2 separate regions of the Homo sapiens genome follow, and region 1 is linked to region 2. The links are contacts of gene promoters, found by promoter capture Hi-C in human tissues and cell types (Jung and others, 2019). All regions are on one chromosome and are shown on one strand. Each heading gives the region's core, a stretch centred on a gene start or on the middle of the fragment in contact. The rest is flanking DNA. Distances are from core to core; before and after follow the strand shown. Region 1 holds the start of CAPN1 (calpain 1). Region 2 holds the start of SNX32 (sorting nexin 32).

Evidence for each region. The method cuts DNA at HindIII sites, captures the fragments that hold promoters and counts their contacts. A contact is called where the count stands out against the background at its distance.
Region 1: a contact is called between the fragment with the promoter of CAPN1 here and the fragment with the promoter of SNX32 in region 2, in 1 of the 25 tissues and cell types used here (adrenal gland).

The regions. Positions count from the first base shown.
Region 1 is chr11:65,175,572-65,183,177 of GRCh38, reverse strand. CAPN1 (calpain 1) reads right to left here and starts at 1,250. Exons shown (of 22, transcript NM_005186.4): 1 at 1,165-1,250; 2 at 210-477; 3 at 1-50. The coding sequence starts at 476. It overlaps CAPN1-AS1 (CAPN1 antisense RNA 1), which reads left to right and starts at 1,344. Exons shown (of 2, transcript NR_145677.1): 1 at 1,344-1,953; 2 at 2,106-3,307. RefSeq lists enhancers at 1-773, 774-1,563 and silencers at 586-880, 1,482-1,931. The HindIII fragment of the contact is 8,891 bases long and covers 1-3,676 here.
Region 2 is chr11:65,829,664-65,836,504 of GRCh38, reverse strand. SNX32 (sorting nexin 32) reads right to left here and starts at 2,542. Exons shown (of 13, transcript NM_152760.3): 1 at 2,404-2,542. The coding sequence starts at 2,439. It overlaps LOC124902693, which reads left to right and starts at 2,706. Exons shown (of 7, transcript XM_047427980.1): 1 at 2,706-5,207. The coding sequence starts at 2,994. The coding sequence ends at 4,610. RefSeq lists an enhancer at 2,461-2,550 and silencers at 2,475-2,687, 2,861-2,990. The HindIII fragment of the contact is 13,089 bases long and covers 1-5,241 here.

The DNA.
Region 1 (7,606 bases), core at 1-2,500, 650 kb after region 2:
TCTGTGCGGGTAGCTCCATCCACAATGAACTGGGGGTTTGACAGCAGTTCCTACGAGAGACCCAGAGTCCTGTTCCTCGGCCAGCCCCTCCCAGAAATTGGCACCAGGCCACCCCAGACCCCATTCCCCACCAGGGACATGGAGTCCCATCCCTACTCCTCATCCAGGATCTGGCTTAGCCGAGTCCCACCCAGGATGGCCCCTCTCACCGTGGGACGCTTCCACTTGATGCCATAGGTCTTGGAGGAATTGGGACCCAGGTCCTTGTAACCCAGGCTCTGGGGTACCGGGGGGAAGGCCTCATCACGGAAGAGGGTCCCACTCTGCAGGCATCGCACCCGCAGCTGCTCATAATCCTGGCCCAGGTACTTGATGGCATTCTCATGGCGGCCCAGGCCCAGCTCCCTGGCCCGCTGCTTCTGCACTTGGGCTGACACCCCAGTGCAGTACACCGGCGTGATGATCTCCTCCGACATCCTGCCGGACAGATGGGCCTGCTCAGAACCCAGGCCTTCCCAAGACTAGAACCTGGGCTCCTGCCTGCAAGCTCTGCTCTCCTGCCCCTGCTTATCCATCCCCAAACCTAGGGTTTCCCTGCCTCACTGCTCCCCTCACAGAAGTAGGGTTCTCAGCCACCTCCCGGTGCTCCCAGTGAATCCAGGAAAGGGATTTCCCAGTTCCCAGGCGTGCCGGCCACCTCTCCTTTCCCGGATCCCATTGTCAGGGGCTTGCAGCTCTGTAGTGAGCCAGCAGGTCAGGTGGGGCAGGGCGGAGCCTCCAGACAGCACAAGGAACTGGGCAGGTGGGACACAGCAGGGAAGGCCTCTTTGATCCTGTTCACAGGCCTGCAACCCCCTCCCCAAACTAACCAAGCTCCTGGTGCACCGGCCCCTTGCCGTGGGCTGAAAACCCCAGACGGTCGGGGTCCCCCTCCTCAGGCCCCCGCAGCAGGCTCGATATCAGAGCTGGTGGGCCCTAGCCCAGCCCCTGGGGACAGCGGTGAGCCAGGCTGGGACAGGCGCCTGGGCTGTGCCGCTCCGCCAGCCCCCACCCCTGCTCCAGGAACGCAGAGGCCCCCGAGAAGGGACCGTGCTGGGGCAGCCCCTCAGCCCAGGAGCAGTGGCCAGGGTCAAGGAATCCCGGCTCGGCTACCCAGCTTCTTACCTGGGGGAGGGGTGTTTGGGGGTCGCTGCAGTCCCTGAGGCTGGCTTCCCGGTGGCAGCTCAGGGCAGGGCCCAACCAGGAAGAGCGCTCCTCCCCGCCCTCCTCCCGCCGCCCCTCCGCCCTCCGCCCTCCCTCTCTCCTTCTCCTCCTCCTCCTCCTGGGGCTCCTACCCCGCTTCCTCTCGGCTCTCCCTTATCTCTCCGGCACGGTCTCTGACTATCTCTTACTCACGGTGTCTCCCCGCCCCTCCCTCCGCAGGCCGGGGGCCAATTCCGCGAGAGGACAAATTAGTAAAAGGCAGAGCAGTCCCCGGGGAGGGGCCAGCGCGGGGGGGGATGGGGGGGCTGGGGCGCGGCGGAAGGGCACCGCGGGGAACGGAGGGGGAGGGCCGGGCAGGGGGTATTTTTAACCAGGGGCAGCAGCTCGAGTTGCAGGGCCGGACGGCCGCACCCCACGCGCGCCCTGGCGGGCATTCCGGGGCGATTGTGCGGCGGCGCCGCCTCCCGCAGCCCCGGGCCCGCCCGGTCCCCAGCTCCCCTCGCTCCGCGCGACCGCAGCTGCTCCCGCCGTTCCCAGCCAGCCCCGGCGCGGGGCCGAGATTACCTCGGGCTGCGGCAGCTGCTCTGAGGAGGGGCCGGGCTGGCAGCGAGCAGACCCCTGCCGGACACTCAGCAAACGGCAGCCTCACCCCGCAGGGCCGCGCCACTCCCCTTCCCCACCCCACCGCCGCGTCCCGGCTCAGCGCTCCCCGGGGAACGCAGGGGGACCGGGCTCGCTGCGTGACCTTGGGTAAGTCCCTGCCCCGTTCGGCCCGACTTTCCGCATGCGTGCATCCTATGGGATGGGGTTGGGCAATTGTGGGAGCCCATCTTTCTCTAACGTTCTGGGGTTTCTTGAACCTGGAAACTTAGAGAGGTGGACATCCCTGTTCTCTCCCCCAGGCTCTCAGCCCACCCACCTGGAAGCGCCCATGTGTCACCTTACCCAGGAGAGGGCGGCAGAGGCTGCGAGCAGGACGGCAGCCCCCTCTCCCCACCCCCAGGACCCTGAGATCCTGCTTCACGGGCTGCAAGAAGTTGGGGGGCCAGGATTCGGCGCGGAGGCCGGGGGTGTGGGTGGGGAGACTGCAGAGACTCCCGAGACCCCCCCAAGTCAGGGCTTTTCGCTGGTCTCGCAGCCCCAGCCCAGCAGCTGCTGCAGTCTTGCATGTTGTGGATGCAAGCATTTTGCTGAGGAAACTGCATAGCGTTCCCAGGACTCTAGGGCCCACGACCCCTCAAAAGTTAAGAGCCGCTGATCTAATCTAACCCCACTTTCACCCTCAGTTAACAAAAGAGGAAAACTGAGGCCTGAGAGGGTGTGACTTGCCTGAAATACCTAACCTGGTGAGTGATGGGTGGAACCAGCTCCTAGGCTTTCTGCGCAGGTGTCCAGGGACAGAGAAGGGTGGTTTAAACTAGAGAGGTGGCAGGCAGAAGTAGATGGATTTGATAACTATTTAGGATACACCATCAAAATTTAACTCAAACTGGATTACACACCTAAATATAAATGGCCAAACCATAAAACTTTTTTTTTTAAAAATGGAGACAATCTTAACAATATTGGGTTTGAAAAGATTTCTTTTTTCTTTTCTAAAGGCAGGGTCTTGCTTTCATTGACCAGGCAGGAGTGCAGTGCCCTGATCACAGCTCACTGTAACTTTAAACTCCTGGGCTCAAGAGATCCTCTCACCTCAGCCTCCTGAGTAGCTGAGACTACAGGCACGTGCCACGACACACAGCTAATTTTTAAATTTTTTGTAGAAATGGGGTCCTGCTGTGTTACTCAGGCTGGTCATGAACTCCTGGGCTCAAGCAGTCCTCCTGCCTGAGCCTCCCAAAGTGCTGGGATTACAGGTGTGAGCTTTGGCACCTGGCCAGATTTCTTAAATATGACACAAAAAGTGTAAATGATAGAAGAAATCAATAAATTGAACTTCATCAAAATAAAACGCTTTTGTTTCTCAAAATGCACGAAACTATTAAAAATGAAAAGATAAGCCATAGACTAGGACGAATATTTGTAAAAATTCTATCTGATGTAGGACTTGTATAAAGAACTTTTACAATTGAATAAAAATCCAATAAAAATGGACAAAACATTTGTTTGTTTTCTGGTGTTTGTTTTTGTTTTTGAGATGGAGTCCCGCTCCATCACCCAGGTTGGAATGCAGTGGCGCGATCCTGGCTCACTGCAACCTCCACCTCCTGGGTTCAAGCAATTCTCCTGCCTCAGCCTCCCCAGTAGCTGGGATTACAGGCGCCCGCCACCACACCAGGCTAATTTTTGTATTTTTAGTAGAGACAGGGTTTCACCATGTTAGCCAAGCTGGTCTCAAACTCCTGACCTCAAGTGATCTGCACGCCTCTGCCTCCCAAGGTGCTGGGATTACAGGGTGAGCCACCGCGCCTGTCAAAAAATGGACAAAACATTTGAACAGACACTTCATCCAAAAAGATCTCTGGATGGCAAATAGGCACATTAAAAAACACTGAGTGCATTACTCTTAGGGAAATGCAAATTAAAGCCACTAGAAGGACTGCTTCTAAAAGAACACCTACTAGAATGGCTAAAAGTTAAGATCAACCATACCAAGTGTTGTTATGTTGTCAAGGATATAGAAGAACTGGAGCTGTCATACACCAAGAGAGGGTAAAATGATCACCACCACTTTGGAAGACAGTTTGGCAATTTCTTTAAAATTTAGCGATACAAAGAAATCAGCCATCAAGCTACAAAAAGACATAGCATAACCTTAAACGCATATTGCTAAGTAAAAGAGGCTGGTATTAAAAAGCTGCATACTGTATGATTCCAATAACTCTATATGACGTTCTAGAAAAGGCAAAACTAGCAATGGTAAAAAGATCAGCAGTTGCCAGGGATTCAGAGGGGTAGGAGAGGGATGGAGCACAGGGCATTTTTAGCACAGCGAAACTATTCTGTATGATACTGTAATGACGGATGCATGACATGCATTTATCCAAACCTGCAGAATGTACAACACTAAGAGTGAACCTTAATGTAAACTATGGACTTGAATTAATAATATTGTGTCAATATTGGTTCATCAGTGATTACAAATATACCACAGGCTGAGCGCAGTGGCTCACCCCTGTAATCCCAGCACTTTAGGAGGCTGAGGTGGGCGGATCACATAAGGTCAGGAGTTCGAGAGACGAGCCTGGCCAATATGGCGAAACCCTGTCTCTACTAAAAAATACAAAAATTAGCTGGACGTGGTGGTGGGCTCCTGTAGTCCCCACTACTAGGGAGGCTGAGGTAGGAGAATCACTTGAACCCAGGAGATGGAGGTTGCAGTGAGCCAAGATCACACCATTGCACTCCAGCCTGGGCGACAAGAGCAAAACTCCGTCTCAAAAAAAAAAAAAAAATAGAACTTAGTCACTGGTTAGATATGGCTCTTGGACACCAGGAGAGACCAAAGACAACTTCAGACCCTGGATCTGGCTTGAGCACCTGAGTAGATTAAAGAGAAGGGGGAATGCACTAAGCTGGAGGGACAGTATGGGATCAGGGTATGGGGTATCTTTGGGATCCCCCTATCCAAGAGGAGATTCCTAGGGGTGAGGAACAGACCTTGTGCTCAAAATAGAGGTACAAATTTGGGAGTCACTAGCCACCAAAAAGCAGAGGCAAGGGGGCTGACACCTTGGTCTTCATATGAAGATGCTTCATATAGATGTCAATTCTCCTTAAATTAATCTCTAAGTGTATCACAATGAAAAATTTTAAGAGTCTTCTGGTGGGAGATAAGGAGGGACTAGAAAAGCTGATTTAAAGGTCATATGGCAAATTAAACAAGTAGGAAACTTCTGAAAATAAAAGACATAATGAGTATAGACTAATCCTACCAGATATTAAAACACAACAAATCTATCATTAAAAGGTAATAATTAAAGAGGGTTACTGACACATAGAGATCAATAGAAGACAGAGAAATTTAGAAACAGATTCAAATACAGGCAGGAATGTAGTAGATGATAAAAGTACCATTTCTAATCTGTTGAGAAAAGATGAGTTAATAAAAGACATTAGGAAGAAAAGGGAGCAATCTGGAAAAAAAGTAAGTTGGATTCATAATTTGTATCTTAGAAAAAATTACAGATGAACTCAATTTATAGGTTTGGAATATGTTGTTCCTAATGAAAAAAACATTTAAAAAGGCTGGGTGTGGTGGCTAACACCTGTAATCCTAGCACTTTGGGAGGCCAAGGTAGATGGATCACCTGAGGTCAGGAGTTCACGACCAGCCCGGCCAATATGGTGAAACCTCGTCTCTACTAAAAATACAAAAAAAAAAAAAAAAAAAGCTGGGCATGGTGGGTGGCAGGCGTTTGTAATCCCAGCTACTCGGGAGGCTGAGGCAGGAGAATTGTTTGAACCCAGGGGGCGGAGGTTGCAGTGAGCCGAGATTGCACCACTTCACTCCAGCCTGAGCAAAAGAGTGAGACTCCGTCTCAAAAAAATAAATAAAAATTTTTTTAAAAATTAAAAAATAAAAACTCTAGGTCTGGTGTGGTATCTCACACCACCTGTAATCCCAGCATTTTCGGAGCCTGAGGTGGGAGGCTCTCTTGAGCCTAGGGGTTCAAGGCCTCAGTGAGCACCGCTGCACTCTAGCCTGGGCAACAAAGCAAGACTCCATCTCTAAAAAATCAATAAAAAATAGGCCAGGCGCGGTGGTTCATGCCTGTAATCCCAGCACTTTGGGAGGCTGAGGCAGGTGGATCACGAGGTCAGGAGATCAAGACCATCCTGGCTAACACGGTGAAACCCCATCTCTACTAAAAATACAAAACGAATTAGCCGGGCGTGGTGGCGGGCGCCTGTAGTCCCAGCCACTTGGGAGGCTGAGGCAGGAGAATGGCGTGAACCCAGGAGGCAGAGCTTGCAGTGAGCCAAGATTGCGCCACTGCACTCCAGCCTCGGCGACAGAGTGAGACAACGTCTCAAAAAAAATAAATAAATAAAAATAAAAATTAAATGTTAACCTTCAATATTTAAACGTACAAAAATGAAAACGAAAATACAGCCAGAAGCTGGCTGGGCACGGTGGCTCATGCCTGTAATCCTAGCACTTTGGGAGGCTGAGGTGGGTGGATCACTTGAGGTCAGGTGTTCAAGACCAGCCTGGCCAACATCGTGAAACCCTATCTCTACTAAATATACAAAAATCAGCTGGGCATGGTGGCACACACCAGCAATCCCAGCTACTTGGGAGACTGAGGCACAAGAATTGCTTGAACCCGGGAGATGGAGGCGGAGGTTGCGGTGAGTGGAGATCGCACCATTGCACTCCAGCCTGGGCAACAAGAGCAAAACTCCATCTCAAAAAAAAAAAAAAAAAAATACAGCCAGGAGCTAAAGGAGAAACTTTTTGTATCATCTCAGTGTGGAAACAGTCTTTTTAACTATGACACAAAACCCAAAAGTCATAAAATTGCATTTTTTACTACATTAAAAATCCATACAGTTATGTCAAAATGATGGACTGAAGAAAACATTTACAATTAACATCTTAAAGGAGTATTTTTCTCCATATACATATATAAAAAATCATGTTCTGGGTGTGGTCGCTCATTCCTATAATCCTAACACTTTGGGAGGCCTAGACAGGAGGATTGATTGAGGCTAGGAGTTTGAGACTAGCCTGGGCAACATAATGAGACCCCATCTATAAAAAAATTAGAAAATTAGCCAGGTGTGGTGGTGCATGCCTGTCATCCCAGCTACTCCAGAGGCTGAGATGGGAGGGTGGCTTGAGCCCAGCAGTTGGAGGCTGCAGTGAGCTATGATTGTGCCACTTCCCTCCAGCCTGGGCAATAGAGCAAGATGCTGTCTCTAAGAATAAAATAAAAGTAAATCCCAGCACTTTGGGAGGCCAAAGTGGGTGGATCGCTTAAGCCCAGGAGTTCGAGATCAGCCTGGACAATACGGTGAGACCCTGTCTGTACCAAAAATACAAAAAGTTAGCTGGGCATGGTGGCCTGTAGTCCCAGCTATCCCAGAGGTCGAGGCTGCAGTGAGCTGTGATCGCACCACTGTATTCCAGCCTGGATGACAAAGCAAGACCCTGTCTCAAAAAAAAAAAGTTCACAAATAAAAGAAGACAAATAGGTCTTAAACATATGACAAGATGTTGAGCTCACTGAAAAGCAAATGTGAATTAAAATTTCACCAAGAGACTGTTTCCCACTTAGCAGTTTGGCAAAGATAAAAATCTGGCACCTCACGGCTGGGTGCGGTGGCTCACGCCTGTAATCCCAGCACTTTGGGAGGCCGAGGCAGGCAGATCACGAGGTCAGGAGGTCAAGATCAGCCTGACCAACATGATGAAACCCCGTTGCTACTAAAAATACAAAAAAAAAATTAGCCG
Region 2 (6,841 bases), core at 1,293-3,792:
TGGTGCGATCTTGGCTCACTGCAACCTTTGCCTCCTGGGTTCAAGCTATTCTCCTGTCTCAGTCTCCCAAGTAGTTGGGATTACAGGTGCGCACCACCACGTCTGGCCAATTTTTTGTATTTTTAGTAGAGATGGGGTTTCACCATGTTGGCCAGGCTAGTCTTGAATTCCTGACCTCAAGTGATTTGCCTGCTTTGGCCTCCCAGAGTGCTGCGATTACAGGCTTGAGCCACCACGCCTGGCCAGTATTTTATATTATTTCATTTTCTCCTCTATTATATTTTTGCTTATATATTCTTTTAATGTCTCTATATTTAAAGGAAGATCTTAGAGAAGGCAACACCTAACCTAGAGGATAAGTACTGGTAGTGAACTTTCAGAGTATGGCTCCTGCAAAGGCTGGGGGGTGCATCCATCTGTTCAATAGCTCAGCACATCCTCAGAACATACAGCAAAAATAATATAACAATAATAATAATATAATAGCTAACCCTTATGTTGGCCCTTACAATATGCTAGGCACCACTCTAACCATTTCATGTATATGCCCTAAGCATTTTATATATGTTAACTCCTTTAACCATGAAGATGAACATACATAGATAAACATTGAAGCAGACCATTCTGTTCCATGCTTTGTGTCTCTCAGCCCCTCTTGCCCCTCTAAACCACTTGAACCCCGCTCCTCATTTCTTGGCTTCTCTGACACTCCCAAGGCAGGCTCTCCCCTTGCCCCAGACCCCAAACACATGCAGTCTGGCTAACTGGTGCAGCAGGTCCCCTAGTCCCCAGCCTCTTTCCTCCTGCCTTAGTATCTCTACTCTGACCTACACTGCTTGGTAGCTGCTTGAGGGAGATGGGCCTCAAAGGTGGACCACAGCTGCTCCATCCTCATCCTCAGCCACGGCCCACTATGCATATGCCTCCATCTCCCAAAAGGGTGCACCTCTCCATGCTCTAACCATCCTTGGCACAACGTGGATGCTCGACAACTCTTTGCTGAAGGAAGTCAAAAGGAAGAAATGGTCTTATCATTACATGAACTCAGAACACAAGTGAAGCCATTAGGGCTGAACAGGATTCTCTCGCCTTGGGAAAGGAGAAGAGGATGCCAGCCTCTGCTCAATCCCTAACATCCTGCCCTCCTCCCCGCCCTCACCTCCCACCCCCTACCCACCTACCCCCATCAAGACAGCCTGAGTTGGTCTTGGGGAGGGTAAGAGTGACAGTGACGGGTCCCTTTCCATCTGTAAGGACAAAGGCAAAACCCTGCCTCCCTTGGCATCCTCATCAGTCCGCACACAGGTGCCACAGAGGCTCCCCACTCCCTTGCTCAAGTCTCCTTTCTCTCACTTGCGCAGACACACACATACACACAGAGACACATGGGCACATACACACACACAGACACACGAGACAAACACAGACACACGCACACACAGACACACATAGAAACACACACAGATACACAGACACACACAAACACACAGGCACAGAGAAACACACACACAGACACACACAACGACATACACAGATCATACACAGGCACACAGACACACACAGATGCACACACAGACACACTGACATAGACACACACAGATATACAAAGACACACGGATACAGACACACACAGACACATGCAAACACACACACAGACCCAGAAATACACAGACACACACACACAGACACACGCAGACCATACACACACACAGAGACACACACACACAGACATAAAGATGCACGCAGACCATACATAGACACAGAGACAGACACACACTCAGACACAAAGAGACACAGACCTGCGCAGACACACACAGGCACATGCGTGCACACACAGATACACACAGAGACACACACAGATGCATACATGCACACATGCAGACCATACACACAGACAGACACAGACACAAAGACACACGCAGACCATACACAGACACAGACACACAGACACACACACACAGACATGCACAGACACACACAGAGACAGACACAGACATGCACGCACAAACACCCACATGGACGCATACGTGCACACACACAGACACACACAGGCCATACACACACACACAGAGACACGGAGACACACAGACACACACACAGATACACAGAGACACACAAAGACACAGACACACACTGAGACACACACAGACACACAGACACACAGAGACACAAATACAGACATACACAGATACACACACACACAGACATATGCAGGCACATCGACATACACACAGACACACAGAGAAACAGACACATGCAGACTATACACACACAGACACACACAGAAACACACAGAGGCAGACCACACACACACAGACACACACACACCACCGCATGATTGGGCATCACGGGCTTTCATGGAGTGAGGGGAGGCTGGGGTGGGGGTCTTCATCCTTTCTCTACCTTGCCCTCCTTCCCAACCTCCGCATACGTCTCCATCGCTCTCCTGGGCTTCAGCGTCCGGCCACTGCCCGCGTGCTCCCGCAGGTCGTCCCCGTAACTCGCCCGAGGAACTGACCGAGTGAGGATGCTCTCAGCTGACGGGGACGCTCTCCCCCGCCCGGCCAAGGAGTCGCCTGGAGTCGGGGGCGGTTCCCACCGCGTTTCCCTCAGCCACGCCTTTCGATTGGGTAGCGGGGCACCGCGCGTGACGCCATTGGCTGCATTGTCTGTCGTTCCTGTCCCAGGCCCCAGCTTTTAAGGGACACGCGGCACGGAGAGTGGGCCGGTGATAGGCGACAGTGTGGGAGCTGGGGTCAGAGTTCATAGGGTCGCAGAGGCCGCGTGCCGCGTCTCCCTCCAGTCCCCGGGGGACTGACCCCCACAACAACCCCGTGCCGCCGTTCCGGGCCCCTCCTTCCAACGGCCACGTGCGGCCTGCGCGTGCGCACTCGCCCAGTTTGGCGCCCACCAGGCAGTGGGGAAGGGGAAGGGGAAGGGGAAGAGGGTGAGGGTGGCAGGGTGGGGACAGGGAATGGGAAGCAGTGGTGGGGATGTGGGTGGTGGACCAGGGGCGAGGGCAGGGGACAATGTCTGTGGAGAAGGGGGGTCTGTTTAGGTTTCCGCTCTTGGACGGGAGGGAGCGGCGGGGTAAGCAGCCTAGGAGGACTAGGGAGCTCCACAAGTCCCGCGGCCAGGGCGCCCCAAGCGAGGCCGGGGTCCGCGAACGGTCGCCACTGGAGCGGGGCTGCAAGGGGGTGCCGATGCTGCGAGAGAAAACCTGGGGACCTTGGAACGGGCTCATGGTAATTGGGAAGAGAGTGGAGCTCCTGACTAGAAACACTCGAAAGCCGAAGCTGGAGTCTGAGTACTGGAGACTGGAAGATGTGGAAAAGACGGTCTTGAAAGGGAAGTCAGGCCCGAGTCAGGAAAGGATGGATGTGAAGCTGCTATACCGTGGAGCAAGTGCATCACAAGCTTCAGCAGATTTGGGGAAAGACAGCCCAAGGGGTATTTGGGGAAAGCAAGAGGTCAAACACGAAATAAAGGCTAAATCTAAGAGTGCAGGGATGACAGCAGGGCCTATGAAGGGGTCTGGGTTTGAAGAGAGGTTGAGGTCTGCTGGGGAGAAGGTAGGGACCAGTGGAGAGGACTTGAGATCCAATGGATATAAACTGGGACAGGATGAGAAGGGGTTGAGGTCTAGTGTAGACAAGATGAGATCAAGTGTAGAGAAGCTGAGGTCTACTAGTGAGAAGCTGGTGTGCAGGGGAGAGAAGCAGGGGTCCAGTGGAGTGAAGCTGAGGTCCAGTGGCAGAAAGCTGAGATCAAGTGGAGAGAATTTGAGATCAAGTAGAGAGAAGCTGAGATGGAGTGGAGAGAAGCTGGGAACTAGTGGAGAGAAGCTGGGAACCAGTGATGAGAAGCTGAGGTTGAGTGGAGAGATGCTGAGATCAATCAGAGAGAAGCTGAGGTTGAGTGGAGAGAAGCTGGGAACCAGTGATGAGAAGCTGAGGTTGAGTGGAGAGAAGCTGAGGTTGAGTGGAGAGAAGCTGAGATCAAGCAGAGAGAAGCTGAGGTTGAGTGGAGAGAAGCTGGGAACCAGTGATGAGAAGCTGAGGTTGAGTGGAGAGAAGCTAAGATCAAGCAGAGAGAAGCTGAGGTTGAGTGGAGAGAAGCTAAGATCAAGCAGAGAGAAGCTGAGATTGAGTGGAGAGAAGCTGGGAACAAGTGATGAGAAGCTGAGGTTGAGTGGAGAGAAGCTGAGATCAAGCAGAGAGAAGCTGGGAACCAGTGGAGAGAAGCTGAGATCAAGCAGAGAGAAGCTGAGGTTGAGTGGAGAGAAGCTGGGGTCAAGTGCGGAGAAGCTGAGATCTAGTGAGGAGAAGTTAGGGACCAGCGGGGAGAAATTGGAGGGTTCAAGAATGGGGAGCATAAATGAGAAGAACATTGAAAAAGTGGTAGAAGTTACTGGCGATGAAAGAGTGATGGCATTTACTCATGATGAGATGGAAATTCCTTTTGAAAGTGTCAAAGGGAGTGAGGAACTACAAGGGACTGAGAAAGGAGTGGGAGTTGAGGGGGGCATCTTGAGTGAAGTGAAAGATATCACTGATGAATCTGTTTCTATGGAAAAAAAAGATATTATAGGTGAAGGTACCAGTGAATGAGGCAGATGAAGGATTGACACCAAAGAAGGAAAGAGGCAGACAGGAGAAGTACTGAAAGTCAGAGGAGAAATTAGAGCCAGACAGAACATTATTGACACTGAAGGGGTAAAGTTGAGAAAGGAAAGGAGAGAGTCTGAGCCTAAAATAAAAGAGAGTGGAAGTGAGGAAAAGAGCTTCTGGGGCTGAAGGCGGAGGCCAGGATCAAAGGAAGCAAAGAGGAGTCTCTGGTTCAGAGGGAAGTGGGAACATATGGAGGAGAAAGAGAAGACTTGGTAATGTGTTGACAGAGGACACTTGGATATTGGGAGAAAAGGTGTGACTGGGAGCTCATAGGGAAATGTTTGAGAAAAGGATGGAGGATGGGCTAGAAGGATTTAGTCTGACACTAAATGGGGTCTATGAGATGGAGAATTGCAGCAGGATAAAGGGTAGATTTTGAGAGTTGTGGAAGAAGGTGCAGACTGAAGTGGGCAAAATTTCTGAAAGAGGAGCCTGAAGAATGAAGGGCTCCCAAGTGACAAAAGCAAGAGAGGAGATAAGAAAGAAGTGAGAAAAAACATAAGAAGCCACGTGCCATAATGGTGATTGTGTTTGTTGGTATGTCCTTCATTATTTCCTTTTCTTTTCTTTTCTTTTCTTTCTTTCTTTCTTTCTTTTTCTTTTTTCTTTTTTTTTTTTGAGACAGTCTTGCTCTGTTGCCCAGGTTGGAGTGTGCAGTGGCGCAATCTCGGCTCACTGCAACCTCTGCCTCCCAGGCTCAAGCGATTCTCCTGTCTCAGCCTCCCAAGTAGCTGGGATTACAGACATGTGCCACCATGCCTGGCTAATTCCCTCACTATCTTCTAACTTCCAAGTATTGCTATTTATAAGTCTTTTTGTTCTTTTCTTTTAATTCTATAGATAGTGTTTTTTTCTATGTAAATTACCTGTTTGCTACCACTCCCTAACTCAACCTGTATCCTCACCCCATTTTCTCTGGCCTTACTAGAGGATGTTAGACCTTGAATTATAGCTGTTATCTTTTTTTCTCCTTTTGCCCGTCTCTTTTTATTGTATTCTCTGGGCAATTTCATTAACTTTAAAACAATTGATGTATAGTAGATGTACGTATTTTGGGGGTACCTGTAATATTTTGATACATTCATATAATGTGTAAAGATCAAATCAGGGCAATTGGGATATCCATCATCTTAAATATTTATCTTTTCTTTATGCCAGGAACATTCGAATCATTCTCTTCTAGTGATTTTGAAATGTACAATAGATTATTGTTAACTACAGTCACCCTACTGATCTATAGAACACTGGGTCCCATTTCTTCCATCTAACTGTACATTTCTACTCATTAACATGTCTTTATTTCCTCCACCCTTCCTGGCCTCCAGTAACCACCAATCTCATCTCTATTTTCATGAGATCCACTTTCAACTTTATTAACTGTATCTTTCTTTCTTATTGAAATTTTACATTTTAACTCTCTTGTTCATTGATTGCTTTTTTTTTTTTTTTTGAGATGGAGTCTGGAGTCTTGCTCTGTCACCCAGGCTGGAGTGTAATGGCGTGATCTTGGCTCACTGCAACCTCCGCCTCCCCGGTTCAAGCAATTCTCCTGACTTAGCCTCCTGTGCTCACTGCATGAGCTGGGATTACAGGAATGCATCACCACACCCGGCTAATTTTTTGTATTTTTAGTAGAAACGGGGTTCCACCATGTTGGTCAGGCTGGTTTTGAACTCCTGACCTCAGGTGATCCACCCATCTTGGCCTCCCAAAGTGCTGGGATTACAGGCGTGAGCCACCGAGCCCGGCCGTGCTTCTTTTTTTATATATAGTATTTCTGTTCTTGTTTCATGAGTCTGTTCTCTTAGCTCTCCAAGGATTTTTCCAGTTTTTAAGTTTTCTTCTGCTTTTCTTATTGTTTCCCCTGAGTTCCCCTCCCCTGCTTCCCCCCGCTCCATTTTTTTTGTGTGTGTATTGTTGGAAGTTTTCCTCAAATGTTTGATCTTCGGCTGTCCATATTTAAGAATGAGGCATTAAGCAGAGGCAATTGGAAGCACAATTTGGGGCTTGTTGATCTATGGGCTTCACTCTGTGGCGACTGAAGCAAGCAGGATATTTTACTGGGTACACCCAAATATCAGAATCTGTAAATCTCACTGAAGGGACCGTCTGGTTTCTACAGAGAATTCTCCAATCTGTCTGGGGGATATCTGCATGGCCCCTGCTATAGA